4 separate regions of the Homo sapiens genome follow, and regions 2, 3 and 4 are each linked to region 1. Evidence: promoter capture Hi-C in human tissues and cell types (Jung and others, 2019). All regions are on one chromosome and are shown on one strand. Each heading gives the region's core, a stretch centred on a gene start or on the middle of the fragment in contact. The rest is flanking DNA. Distances are from core to core; before and after follow the strand shown. Region 1 holds the start of ARNT2 (aryl hydrocarbon receptor nuclear translocator 2). Region 2 holds the start of ZFAND6 (zinc finger AN1-type containing 6). Region 3 overlaps CEMIP (cell migration inducing hyaluronidase 1). Region 4 has its middle 20 kb from the start of ZFAND6.

The links. The method cuts DNA at HindIII sites, captures the fragments that hold promoters and counts their contacts. A contact is called where the count stands out against the background at its distance.
Region 2: a contact is called between the fragment with the promoter of ZFAND6 here and the fragment with the promoter of ARNT2 in region 1, in 1 of the 25 tissues and cell types used here (hippocampus).
Region 3: a fragment that was not itself captured here is called in contact with the fragment with the promoter of ARNT2 in region 1 in 3 of the 25 tissues and cell types used here (IMR-90 fibroblasts, aorta and mesendoderm cells).
Region 4: a fragment that was not itself captured here is called in contact with the fragment with the promoter of ARNT2 in region 1 in 2 of the 25 tissues and cell types used here (bladder and dorsolateral prefrontal cortex).

Annotation. Positions count from the first base shown.
Region 1 is chr15:80,403,088-80,405,999 of GRCh38, reverse strand. It overlaps ARNT2 (aryl hydrocarbon receptor nuclear translocator 2), which reads right to left and starts at 1,618. Exons shown (of 19, transcript NM_014862.4): 1 at 1,454-1,618. The coding sequence starts at 1,484. ARNT2-DT (ARNT2 divergent transcript) reads left to right here and starts at 1,804. Exons shown (of 6, transcript NR_184070.1): 1 at 1,804-2,009; 2 at 2,415-2,498. RefSeq lists an enhancer at 1,687-2,187. The HindIII fragment of the contact is 10,967 bases long and covers 1-2,912 here.
Region 2 is chr15:80,058,370-80,061,577 of GRCh38, reverse strand. It overlaps ZFAND6 (zinc finger AN1-type containing 6), which reads right to left and starts at 1,902. Exons shown (of 7, transcript NM_019006.4): 1 at 1,769-1,902. RefSeq lists silencers at 1,330-2,199, 1,896-2,224. The HindIII fragment of the contact is 12,222 bases long and covers 1-3,208 here.
Region 3 is chr15:80,792,084-80,795,292 of GRCh38, reverse strand. All of the region lies in intron 1 of CEMIP (cell migration inducing hyaluronidase 1), which reads right to left. Among named protein-coding and RNA genes, the nearest start is that of CEMIP, 14 kb to the right of the region's middle. The HindIII fragment of the contact is 5,902 bases long and covers 1-3,209 here.
Region 4 is chr15:80,037,751-80,040,918 of GRCh38, reverse strand. No RefSeq gene overlaps it. Among named protein-coding and RNA genes, the nearest start is that of ZFAND6, 20 kb to the left of the region's middle. RefSeq lists an enhancer at 711-1,210. The HindIII fragment of the contact is 5,767 bases long and covers 1-3,168 here.

The DNA.
Region 1 (2,912 bases), core at 369-2,868:
GTTTCCTAGACATAGCTGACAAATCAGTCTTCCAGAAAAAGTGATCATGCGATTTCCTTGTTCAATACCATTGAGGTCTCTCTCTCTCTCTCTCTGTCTCTCTCTCTCTTTTCTATTTTATTTTATTTTTCTGGTTCTTAGGAAGTGTGCAGAGGACTCTCCCTTAATGTGGAGAGAGAAAGTCCATACTCCTCAGTCTGTCCTTTAAAGCCTGGTCACATCCAAACAACTCAGTGTTAAATCCCACTGCTGCCTCTTATATCCCCAGTGCACCAACTACTCACTGACCTCTGCACTTGCTTAGAGCAAGTCCACTGTTACTTACGCCTGCAATGCCCCTCTGCTACTGGCTCTGTATATTCAAACATTCCCGTTTTCAAGGTTCAGCCGAAATGTCCAATCTCCAGAAGCCTTCCCTGGCCGCCTTAGATGAAAGGGATCTTTCATTCCTAATTCTATGATGAGAGACACTTTTCTTTGCTAGGCATTGCTGTTCCTCCCCCGACCCTCCCTATCTCCAACACATGACCTCCCTCTGCTGGGAATTTCCTGGGGGCCGCCCTCTGTGACTCTCCCTGCATCTTCCACAGGGACCCAGCAACCTGCCGTGCCCACAGCAGCCTCTGCACAACACCCAAAAGTTTGTACTAGCTTAGATGTTCACGTTTCTCTTCTCCCACACCCTGCTCATCAGGTAGGGAACTTTCCCAGTGAAAACGGAACTTCCCTACTACAATACCAAAACAAGTCAATGTTGCCACTTGATCAAGAACTCTTCCATTTTTGAAATATTTCCTAATGAGCTCAGTTGTCACAGACTGCACCCTGGGGACAGGTCAGACCAGAAAGCAGAGGATGTCACCTGGGCAGGACCAGGGCTGCTCCACGCTGGTGACCACAGGCTGGGTGTTTTGTGCCCCCGGAGGGTTAGGACACACAGCAGCCAGTCGCAAAGGGCGCAAAGGACCAGCGCTTAGTGGGCGGGGCGGGCAGGGGAGAGTCCCGGGAGTTGTACCCTGTTGAATCCCAGCTCCAAACTTTTCCCTCCGTCAGCGCGGAGCCCTCCACCAGCCAGGACTGGCTGACGCCGTGATGCCACAAAAGCCGGGACCGGAAGAGAAAAATGCGTGGGATGGGGAAGGCAAAGGCGGTTATTTTCAGAACTTCGGGGGCTCCCGGGCCTGCCCTTCGGGTTCCCGAGGATGCGAGGCCAGCGTCCGGCCGCCCGCGGGTCCGGACCGGCGCCTGCCCGGGACCGGATGGGCAGCGATTGGGATGCAGATGCCGCTCTGGTGCTGATGCTGCGGCTGCCGCGTAGTGACAGCCGCTCCACCACCCACCGCGCCGAGCTGCGGCTCCGCGCCCCCGGGGGCGCCCGGCGCGCCTGGTCCGCTCCGGCCCCGGGCAAGGCCTGCGGGCTGCGGCGGGCGGCGGGGCCCAGGCCGCTACTCACCCGGAGGGTTGACCGCCGCCGGGGTTGCCATCTTGCTCGGAGAGGATAGGCGCCCGCTTGGCAGGGGCGCGGGAGGGGCGGCGCGGAGCCCGGCGCTCAGCCCCGGGGACCCGGTCAGGCCCAGGCGCCGCCGCCGCCACACAAAGGACGGCGCGGGCGGGCGGCGCTCCCTCCGCTCTCCCCGCCGCCGCGGCCGCTCGCCGTCCCCGCCTTTCTCTCCTCCTCCTCCCCCTCCTCGGCCTCCTCCTCCCGGTTCAGCCTTTGTCGCGCGGCGGGGGGCGCCCGGCCCGCGGCTCCCCGGTCAGAGCGGTAGCACCGCGAGACTTGGGGCTGCGGACGGCGGGACCCCCAAGTTGGGCGCCGGCGACTGGCGGGGGCAGAGGGCCGGGCGCTCCCTCGGGCTCGCGCAGGTGCTCGGGCCTGGCCGGGCTGGGACCGCAGGCGCCTCTCCCGCGCTCGCCTAGCCCGGGCTGCCCCCGCACGCCCACGCCCCAGGTGTCCGGGCGCGCTTTACCCAGGGGCGCCGTGCCCAGGCCAGGAGGCCAGGGCGGAGCGGGTGAGGGAGAAGCCCATTTAGATTCAGAGGGAAGCCGGTCCTGGGAGACGGCCGCGAGGAACAAAGGCGCCCCAGTGCTGCCCACTTAGCATGCCAGAGCCGCGCTGCTCGGCTCCCAGGCCGGGGACACGGCCCGGTGTTAAGCGGAGGGTGCCCGACCGCGGGAATTCCTAAGGCCACGCGCACCTCCAAGGCCACCGCCGCACACAGCTTCGGAGTGCACAGTGCACACGCCCAGGCACAGGCAGCCGGCCCGAGAAATTGTGAATGTCTTGGCTTTGAGTAAGGCGCTCATCTCTACCCTCCTTCCATAATGACTGCCGTTGATTATTACTTGAGGGCGCTGCAAGGGCCTTATTTACACCACCAAGTTGAGAATTTAAAAAGATTTTTTTTTTTAAATAGGTTTATCTGCGTATCCTGGCGAAGTTTGGATGCAGAGAACTTGGAGCTGTTGTTTTCTACCAGACACTAGGATCCCTGAGAGAGGTAATGGCCCCTAGGAAGGACACGTCACCATCGGGGTCCCCTGTAAAGGTTAAATGGAAGAATAAAGACATCCCAGGTGAACGCTGAGAAGGGCAAGTTGGTCCCTAAACGCAGATAATGTTTGCAGAGACATCAAACTGTCTTAAATCCTTCCAAGGAAGCATTTTCTGGAGGGCAGAAAATTTGGGATGTATGTTCAAATAAGCATTTTCTTCGGGGAGTATTTGTCACTACTAATCTAATAGTCTATCAGTTCTACAAATGTTGAATGTCTGCTGTGTGCCAGGCACAAAGCCAGGTGTTGGGCCTACCATGGAAAGGAAGAAACAGGAGCTCTGTTCTTCTGGTTTGGGGGGTAGAGTGGGGAAGAGTGAAACAAAGTATCTGCACTCAAGAAGCACACAGCTCCCTTGG
Region 2 (3,208 bases), core at 653-3,152, 340 kb after region 1:
CATACAAACATATATGATAAAACTATTTTTCAAAAAGTCAAGGAAGTGACATACACAAAATCCACTGCACAGATAAGAAACTCATAGACAAATGCAAGTTTTAGTAATGTTCCAGTTTTGGGTTTGGGGGGAGTCATCAAGGATTTATGATGTTTTTATCTGCTTATACTTTACCGTGTTTTTTTTTGGTAGTATTAAATATATTTTGGTTACTTCTTAAAAACGTTACTGACATATAGTTGACAATAAACTGCACATATTTGAAGTGTAAAACGTGTAAGTTCTGACATATGCATACACCCAAAAAGTTATCACTACAAGATAATAAATCCACCGACCCCTGTATTTTCTCCTGCACATTTGTGATGTCTCCCTTTAAACACATTTTAAAACGTAAAAAAGTAAAAATAAAAAAGACAACTTGTTTTGGAAAGCTAAACGTGCATATTTTGCAAAACATTTCCCCTAGGGCTCTGGAGAAACTATACACAACTCAGAAAGTGCCTTAAAATTGGTGACATGGTTACCGAACAACTAACCTTAAAAGTTTATGGTATTTTACACTTTTAAAAAATCAAATTCCGATTTCGGTTTGAAAGAGGAATTTAATCCTGTTTCTCGGAGCTTCAAAATCATTAATTCTGCCCGGCTTTTTTTTGAGACGGAGTCTCCCTCTGTCGCCAGGCTGGAGTGCAGTAGCGCGATCTTGGTTCACTGCAACCTCCGCCTCCCGGGTTCAAGCGATGCTCCTGCCTCAGCCTCCCAGTAGCTGGGACTACCGGCGCCCGCCACCACACCCAGCTAATTTTTGTATTTTTAGTAAAGACAGGGTTTCACCATGTTGGCCAGGATGGTCTCGATCTCCTGACCTCGTGATTAGTCCGCGTCGGCCTCCCAAAGTGCTGGGATTACAGGCGTTGAGTCACCGCGCGTGGCCAATTCTGCCCAGTTTTTATGGCCCAACAACTTAATATAAATTATCTTTAGGTAACCCCAAGGTCCTAACTTCCTCACAACTGGTTACAACTTCCGAGATGTGAAGGTAAATCATAGCGTCCCAACTGTGTAGGATAGTTAGCACGTGACTTAAAAACCAAGTTAAAAAGATTTCAAACACAATATTCTTTCATACTTTTTTAGGTAGCTAAAACTTAAATATAACTATTTCAAAAAAGCAGACAAAAAATTTAGAATCCTAAGCAAGCTAAACCCAAGCAGGAAAAAAAGAGACCAATTCCCTTCCCGGTGCCAGTCAGGAGTTGGAGACACCGGGCTGCCTCCGGCTGGTTTCTGAAAAACGCCGCAGGTGGAAAAACATCCCGAAGAGGACCTGAGACTCGGAGGAGGCGGGGAACTGACGCGCCCCAGTGTGCCCGGGGCCCTTCCGACCCCCGCCAGCCAACCGCTCGCAACCCGCTCGGGGCGGCGCGCGTCGCGGCCTCCGCGGCCCTGAAGAACTGAGGCTCCCGACCCCAGCGCGACCACCCTGACAGGAAGCGGCCCCCGGCCGCGGGCGCCCGCGCGCCGTCTGAGGTGAACCCGCCGATCTCCGGCCCCCACCCCCGGAGCCGGGAGTCCTCGCCCTCTCGCCCGCGGCCCCCGCGGGCCCACCACCTGCTGCGCCGGCCGGCCGCCCTCCGCTTCCGGCTCTCGGGCGCCGGGAGGGGCCGGGGGCGGGCCTCGCCTAGCTGCAGCCGGGTGGGGGAAGGGAGCAGGCGGGGGAGGGGCAGCGCCGGGCAAGCCGGGCCCCGCGGGCCGCGCTCCTCACCTGGCGGCGGGTCTCTCCGCCTGACACGCTGCGCGCCGCCGCCGGTAGCCGCCGGTGAATGGGTACAGGTAATGCCGCCGAACCCCTGCTTGCTCCGGCTCCGCCACCGCCGGCCCCTCCGTCCGCTGTTTATTAAACTTTTCTGTTTGGTTGTTCGGCCTATGACGCGACCGCGGAGGAGAGCCACTGGATTGGCCGGCTCCCGCGGCTGACGCGCGGGCCCCGCCCGCCCGCTAATTATTACCGGCGCGGGCGGGGCCGCAGGCCGGAGGAGGCGGGGAGAGGCGGGGTCAAGGCTCGGAGCGCACGGCAATTGGCCGGAGGCAGGAAAAGAGGCGGGGCGGAGCGAAAGGAGATGCTCCTCCGCCTTCTGCACCTCCAGTGTCCCTTGCTCCACTGCCCTCTCTGGGGCGCTTCCCGCCGCGGTTTCTCTACCTCCAATAGCTACGGGAAGGCGATTAAGAGGTGCCGCGGAGACTTTAAGGGCTTGGTTATGTAGGTTCAGGTACCTTTGCCACCTCGCAGGGAATGGCGTGTCCCTGTCTTGGACTGAGGCACCAAAAAGAGTTGCACTCCACCTGCCACTTGTGCAGGAAGGAATTCTGAGCTTCTGTCTTCCCATGCAGGCCGGCGCCTCAGTCTGCAAGCGCAAAGTCCGAGCTCAGGGCGCATACTGGAAAGCAGTTCTCTGCCCTGTCCTGAACTGGGACTTGGAAATAGAAGCAAGACGAGAAGCGTGCATGCACACGTGTGCAATACATACATGCACAGGCACAAGCACCCCCAGTTCCAGCCTGTTCCAAAAGCACGGGGTCAGTTCCCACCTGCGTGGTGCACGCTGGGCTGCTGCGCTGGAACTAGGGGTGATAGGCAGAATGGCTCCCCCTGAAGTTTTTCAGCCTTCGTTCGGGCTCACGAGCATCACGAGCAGGAAGTACGTGACACTTTAGTTCGAGGTCATTCAATCCTATTGTGAATGAGGAGTTCCGTTAGGGCATCCAGGTAGGCGAGCCCAGTCCTGAGAATCCTCTTTATTTTAAATGTTGGTATTTTGTTATTCATGGATTTTTTTTTTGCATTAATTTTAATTTTAAAAAATAAAAATGTTATTCATCTTGATCACTTAGTTTTTTGGTGCTCCCTTAAATGTTGTGCCTGAAGTGAGTACCTGTTGAGCATTTAGCAACACAGAAGTCACCTTGGGGAGTACAGTTTAAGTGGAGGACAAAAGCCTGATTGGAATGGTAATAAAACCTACTTGTTAGGCTATTTGTGGGGGTTAAATAACATAATATGTGTGAAAGAGCTTCTTGAACTAGCAAGGTTATGCGTCAAGTCTTACGGATTTTGTCTTAAATGTATTTTTCTTCCGATTCTTGTCCAGTTTATCGTTGTATTAACTCCAGCACCTAACCCAGTTGGATTTTCATATGCAGTTAT
Region 3 (3,209 bases), core at 702-3,201, 390 kb before region 1:
CCTACCCAGACAGAGAGCAGCCAGAGGGATCCCTTTAAAAAAAACAGAAAAATCAGACAATGTAACTCCCCTGCTTGAAATTTCATGTCTTCCCATTGCTTTCAGGATGATGTTCACAGTCCTGAGCATGGTTTAAAAGATGCTGCATGATCCCCTTCCTGCCCCCTCACCCCTGCCTCCCCTTCAGTCCTGCCTTGCTCCTCACCTCACTTTCCCTGCCCCAGCCAATCTGGGCTTCTCTCACTCTCTGTCTTGAGGCCTCTTTGCATCCTCATTACCTAGGACATCCTTGCCCCCACTCTTGGTCTTTCTAGCTTCTACTCACTATCCTCCTAGGCTCTGCCTATGTTGCTTCCCAAAAGAGGCTTTCTCTCCCTGCTCCCACTTCTACTTCCACCAGCCACTTGTAGCAGATCCCCTATTTTTTCTCCTCAAACCTTTCAACTTTTCTTCATATCACTGGCCACAGTTTGGAATCACATACGCCCGTGATTTTTTCATATCTATTTTTTTATATTTGTCTCTCTCCCTAGACCTACACTGTTCCACTAGCCGCCTGTGGCTATTAAGCACGGGAAACATGGCAGGTCCGAATTGAGATATGCTGTAAGCAGAAAATACATACCAATTTTGAAGATTTAGTATAAAAAAATGTAAACAATCTCATTACTTTTTATAGTGACTACCTGTTGAAGTGACAATAGTTTGGATGTATGAGGTGAAAATAAAGTATATTATTAAAATTAATTTTACCTGTTTCTTTTTAAACTTTGTCTTAGTGGGGCTACTAGAAAACTCAGAATTCCAAATGTGGCACCCATTGTATGTCTCCTGGACAGCACTGCTCTAGACTGTAATCTCCATGCAGGCAGGTCTCAGCTCATTTTGGTCACTGCTGCATCCCCAGAGCCTAGCAGCCTCTGCAATATTATAAGCTGACTTCAGTAAACTGCTAAATGAGGGAATAAATGAGTGAATGAGTCAGACAAGCAAAGGAAAAACTTCTGGTTAAAAAAATAGTCATATGAATATGGATACTACAAGTTTGTAAGCTCACTGTTATTTTGTGTGAGGGAGAAATTTCTGATTTGGGACCATTTGGAACAAGCTACAACCCTCTCTAGGGGCCAGATGGGACTACTAGGTCACCTGTGGTTAAACCAGATAAAAATCACAGACAACAGAAAGGCAAAGATAAACTGCTGGAGGGTCTTTGACCTCAAGTTGTCCCACTTTTCAAATCCCCAAAACCAGGAACCCACTTGGCAACACTTTGACCTAAAAATAAAATCATAAATAACAAAAACAACTTGACAAAAGCATTCTACTTAAGTTCAAAGATGACCCTAGTGTTAATAAAACTGTAATGAGCACCTATTAAGAATTTCTGGCGGGGATGCCCAGTTTCATGTGGTGTTTGTTTTTCATCCTATCCCACTAATGAATATTTAGCTCAGTGTTTCCCCAACATAGGTCCCACAGCACCCAAGTCTCAGAAAGTCCTCTGTGAAAATAGAAAGGGAATTCCCTAGACCAACACGTCTGGGAGATACTATACACTATGCACCTCTCCCTGAGAGACATGGTGCATGCTGGTTTACAAAGCCATTGAGAAGATCTTGGAAAATGAAAACAGGTCAACTTTGTTTATCCCAGTTTGTCTCAAACTTGTTTGACCTCAGAATATCTAGTAACAGCTCAAGGAAGCGATGCTCCCAAGAAATGCACTTTAGGAAGGGCTCATCTAAGCTTCATTTCCAAAACCGTAATTAGTGATAAATTATTCTGATCTTGTGGGTAACCCTACCTGTGGGAAACCCAGCTGTGATAACCAGAGTTCCACCATTCAATGGTAACCACTCCCCTTCACTTTGGGTAAGAGAAAAACACCCACCACAGAAGACTTAACCTCGTGTTGATAATGTGTGTAGTTATGCATAATGACAAGTAAATAAGGAACTTTGAGGGCGTTGGTCTAACACACCCAAATTAATTATGTGCCTCTCAACATCTTCCAGTTTCAGAGAGCAGAAGGGGGAAAGACGTCCTGAATGAAAGCAAATAATTGGACAGGTTACACAGCCAAGCTAGGCAAGGAGTTTGTGCCCTTCAAATTTCACTATTGCACCAACCTGCTGCCACCCATGTCAATCTCAAAACCTGCAGCTCCAACGCTTACCCTCTTAATGTGATATTCTGAGCCAGGGCACAGAGATACTAGCAAGTCTGCTTTTTACACTTCTTAAACTGTATTTTCATCAGAAGTCAGAAGACCTGGACTACCTTTCTCTATTCTGTGTCCTACCAATATATGTAAAGCACTTATAAAGTGACTGTAAGTAGTAGGTCTCAGGAAATGCTAGTAAGTAGCTCTCCTCTCAGGACAACATTCATGCCTGAATGTCTCAGTTCTGGAGATACAATGGTGACTGAGATGGACTAGTTCCTGATCTCATGGAGTGTTGAGCTTGACAGACACCACACCGAGGAGACACAATCTCTATCTCTGCAAGGGAACACTAGAGCACATGCCTTGGCCATTCAGATTCTTGTTCTAGGACCAGCTACTGCCCATAGCTTGCCAAAGGTTTAAAGTTTGTAAATTCCCCCAAAGTCACAGCATGGCCATCTCTACATACAGTGTCTGCTAATTCAATCAGCTACATTGACAATTGGAAGAGACATGCTATTTTGTATACCTAGTATGTACAAGATCATAACTCTAAGAAGTTGCCGTGTATTAGTTCACATAGTACACAGAATAATATATAATCATCCTATTTTAGGGGATGGATAAGCAACTGAGGCACAGAAAGGTGAAGTAACCTGTCCAAAGTCAAGCAGCTAACCAGTGCAGGAGGTAGATTTATAACTGGGACTGCTGGGCTCCAAAGCTTATGCCCTTTCCCAGTTTATTACACCAGCTCTAATATTCTACAACCCAAGGAAGATATAAAGTAGACAGCATGCAAACTGGTGGAGAAAGAATATGGAGAACAGTTTATTTTGCAGTCAACAAAACCTAACTGGGCCCTTCCTGGAATACTTCATTATTTCTCTCTTTTTGTCTGATTAGAACCATCTTGGAGATATTGGTGATCTGAATTTAATGTGTTTCTGTTGAATGGAAGAACCCAGCCTTTGTGACTTTCTCTCCTCTGGCTACTTGGTGGGCATACTCAGATTTGCTTTAAGACCACATACAGGGA
Region 4 (3,168 bases), core at 646-3,145, 370 kb after region 1:
TTCAGTAAAATACTTCAGTTTATAAAAAGTCTAGAAGTTATCTTTGAAAGTTAAGTGAATAAAGCAGGAGAGAACATTCTATGAATATGCCAATAATATTTTAAGTGAAAAGGCAAGTCACAGAACAGTACTATGTTAAGATCCTATCTGTGTTAAAAATGTAGACACATGTATACCTACAAATGAAATAAATGCCTGTAAAGATAGATACCAAATTGAAAATAGGGGTTATTATCTCTGAGGGATGGTTTTGAGGCTAAGAGAAAGCTTATTTATGAGTGTTTGAATTTTTTCTAATGAAAATATATTAATTTTATAATAAAAATAAATTATAAACAGATACATAAAGTATGTGTTTATATAAACACATGTATTGTGTATATATATGTGTATTTTAAAATATCTATAACTATCTCCTATTTGTAAATATATATACATATTTAAATATATACACACATACACGTATAAATGTAAACACATATATGCCTAGGAAAATAGATGTTTATATTTATATATACACGTGTATATATTTATATATGTATATATATATTTACATATGTGGCATTATAGGTGATGATTACTATTGGCTTTTTTATTCATGTGTTTTTCATATTTTCACCAATTTTATAATCTAGTAAGAATTTTTTTAAAAACGAAAAGGTTATAAAAAAAGGAAAAACCTAATAAAATTGTATAGTATAATCACTAGTGAGTGAAAGTAAGCATAAATTTTGTACATGGAAAAAAAATCTAGGAAAAACTAGAATTAGTGGAAATTTAGATGTTAAAACTTTTTTTTTTCCTCTTTTTATTCCCCCCAAGTCTATGATAATGAATGAATATTAGTTCCGGTGCTAGAAGAAAGTATAATGTAAAAATGTAAATATTTATTAGGTGCACCCAAAGATCATCATTTTAGAGATGGAGAAACTTAGGGGCAAGCAGGGGCATTGGCTGCTAAAGGGGGTGCAGGCTGAGGCAGGTCTCACCTCTGGGTTCTAGAGCTCCTTCCAGCCCCCTTCAAGCTGCCATCACATTTCTGTTCTCGAGTTTGGAGAAAAGGGACACACACCGGTTGGTGCCCGTGCTGGCAGTCTGCTCACATCACACCTAACTGAGGGGTCTCCCCAGGGCCTTGAGCTCCTGGCTGGCTAATTCTACTTAGTGCTAGGGTAACTGAGGTCAGACATCCATGAGGTGGCAAAGTGGGGTGATCAGTTTGTCCCAGTTTGCCTCAGATTTCCCCAGTTTTAGCACCTAAAATCCTGCATTCCAGGAAATCTCTTGGGCCTATAAAAACCAGAACAGGACCAGGCACGGTGGCTCACCCCTGCAATCCCAGTACTTTGGGAGGTCAAGGTGGGTGGATCACCTGAGGTCGGGAGGTGGGGAGTTCGAGACTGGCCTGGCCAACATGGTGAAACCCCGTCTCTATTAAAAATACAAAAATTAGCCGGGCGTGGTAGTAAATGCCTGTCGTCCCAGCTACTCGGGAAGCTGAGGCAGGAGAATCTCTTGAACCCAGGAGGCGGAGGTTTCAGTGAGCCAAGATCGTGCCACTGCACTACAGCCTGGGTGACAAAGCAAGACTCCATCTCAAACAACAACAACAACAACAACAGCAACACAGAACAGTTGGTCACCCTAGAGTGAATTGTGATTCCCAAGAACACCAAACTGGGAACCAGGAGATCACCATTCTCACCCGAACTCCCTGTGTGGTATTACCTCACCTCTCTGGGCCTCAGTTTGCTTATCAGTGAAACAGTATCATCTCCCCGGACTCTACCTTAAAGGGTCGTTTCAAATAAAAAAAAAATGTGAAATTACATTGTAAACTAAGGACTGTGTCCATAGGGGAGGGTCAGGGTGGACTTTGCCCTTGGGGGAGTCAGCTAGAGCCATGGAGGCATGACCACAGCGTTCTGATCACAGCTTACTCTCCATTCTCCTTGACATCCAAAGTCACGCCCACCTAAAATCCTCTCATGAGGTTAATCCAACAAGTCTTCAGCTCTGGTGAGGTGGGACTCCGAGGGTTCTACAAACTTTTTCTGTAAAAGCCTTTGATGGTTAATTTTTTTTTTTTTTTTTTTTGAGACAGAGTCTTGCTCTGTCGCGGCTGGAGTGCAGTGATGCAATCTCAGCTCACCGCAACCTCCACCTTCTGGATTCAAGTGATTCTTCTGCCTCAGCCTCCCAAGTAGCTGGGATTACAGGCGCGCACCATCACGCCCAGCTAATTTTTGTATTTTTAGTAGAGACAGGGTTTCACCATATTGGCCAGGCTGGTCTTGAACTCCTGACCTCGCAGTCCATCCACCTTGGCCTCCCAAAGTGCTGGGATTACAGGTGTGAGCCACGGCGCCTGGCTTTGATGGTTAATTTTATGTGTCAATTTGGCTGGACCACAGTACCCAGATATTTGGTCAGACATTATTCTGGATGTTTCTGTGAGAGTACATTTGGATGAGATTAACATTGAAATCAGTGGATTTTGAGTAAAGTTGGTTGCCCTCCACAATGTTGGTAGGCCTCATCCAATCAGTCAAAGGACTGAATGGTACAAAGACTGACCTCCCCTGAGGAAGAAGGCATCCTGCAGCAGACAGCCTTCAGACTCAAACTGCAACCTTGGCTCTTCCCAGGTCTTCAGCCTGCCAGTCCACCCTGCAGACTTTGGACTTGCCAGCCTCCATAATCACATGAGCCAGTTCCTTAAATCTCTCTCTCTTTTTTTCTTCCTTTCTCTCTATCCTATTGGTTCTGTTTCTATGGAAAACCCTGACTAGTACAAAATCCAAATAGAACATGTTTTAGGCTCTGCAGGTCATGTGATCTCTGTCACATCTACTCGACTCTCCCATTTTAGCTCAGAAGCAGCCATAAACAATACACAAGGTATTGTCCACCTTGGCCTGCTGACATTTGAGGCTGGATCATTGTTTGTTATGAAGGCTGTCCTGTGAACTGTAGGATATTTAGCAGCATCCTAGTCTCTACCCAGTTGATACCAGTAGCACTCCTCAGTTGTCACAACCCAAAATGTAACTGGGGGGAGGGAGGTCTGATATAAATAAATGAGCATGACTGTATTCTATTGAAACGTGATTTACAAAATAGGTGCTATTTTGTAGATACATTATTGTAAAACATTATTTACAAAAT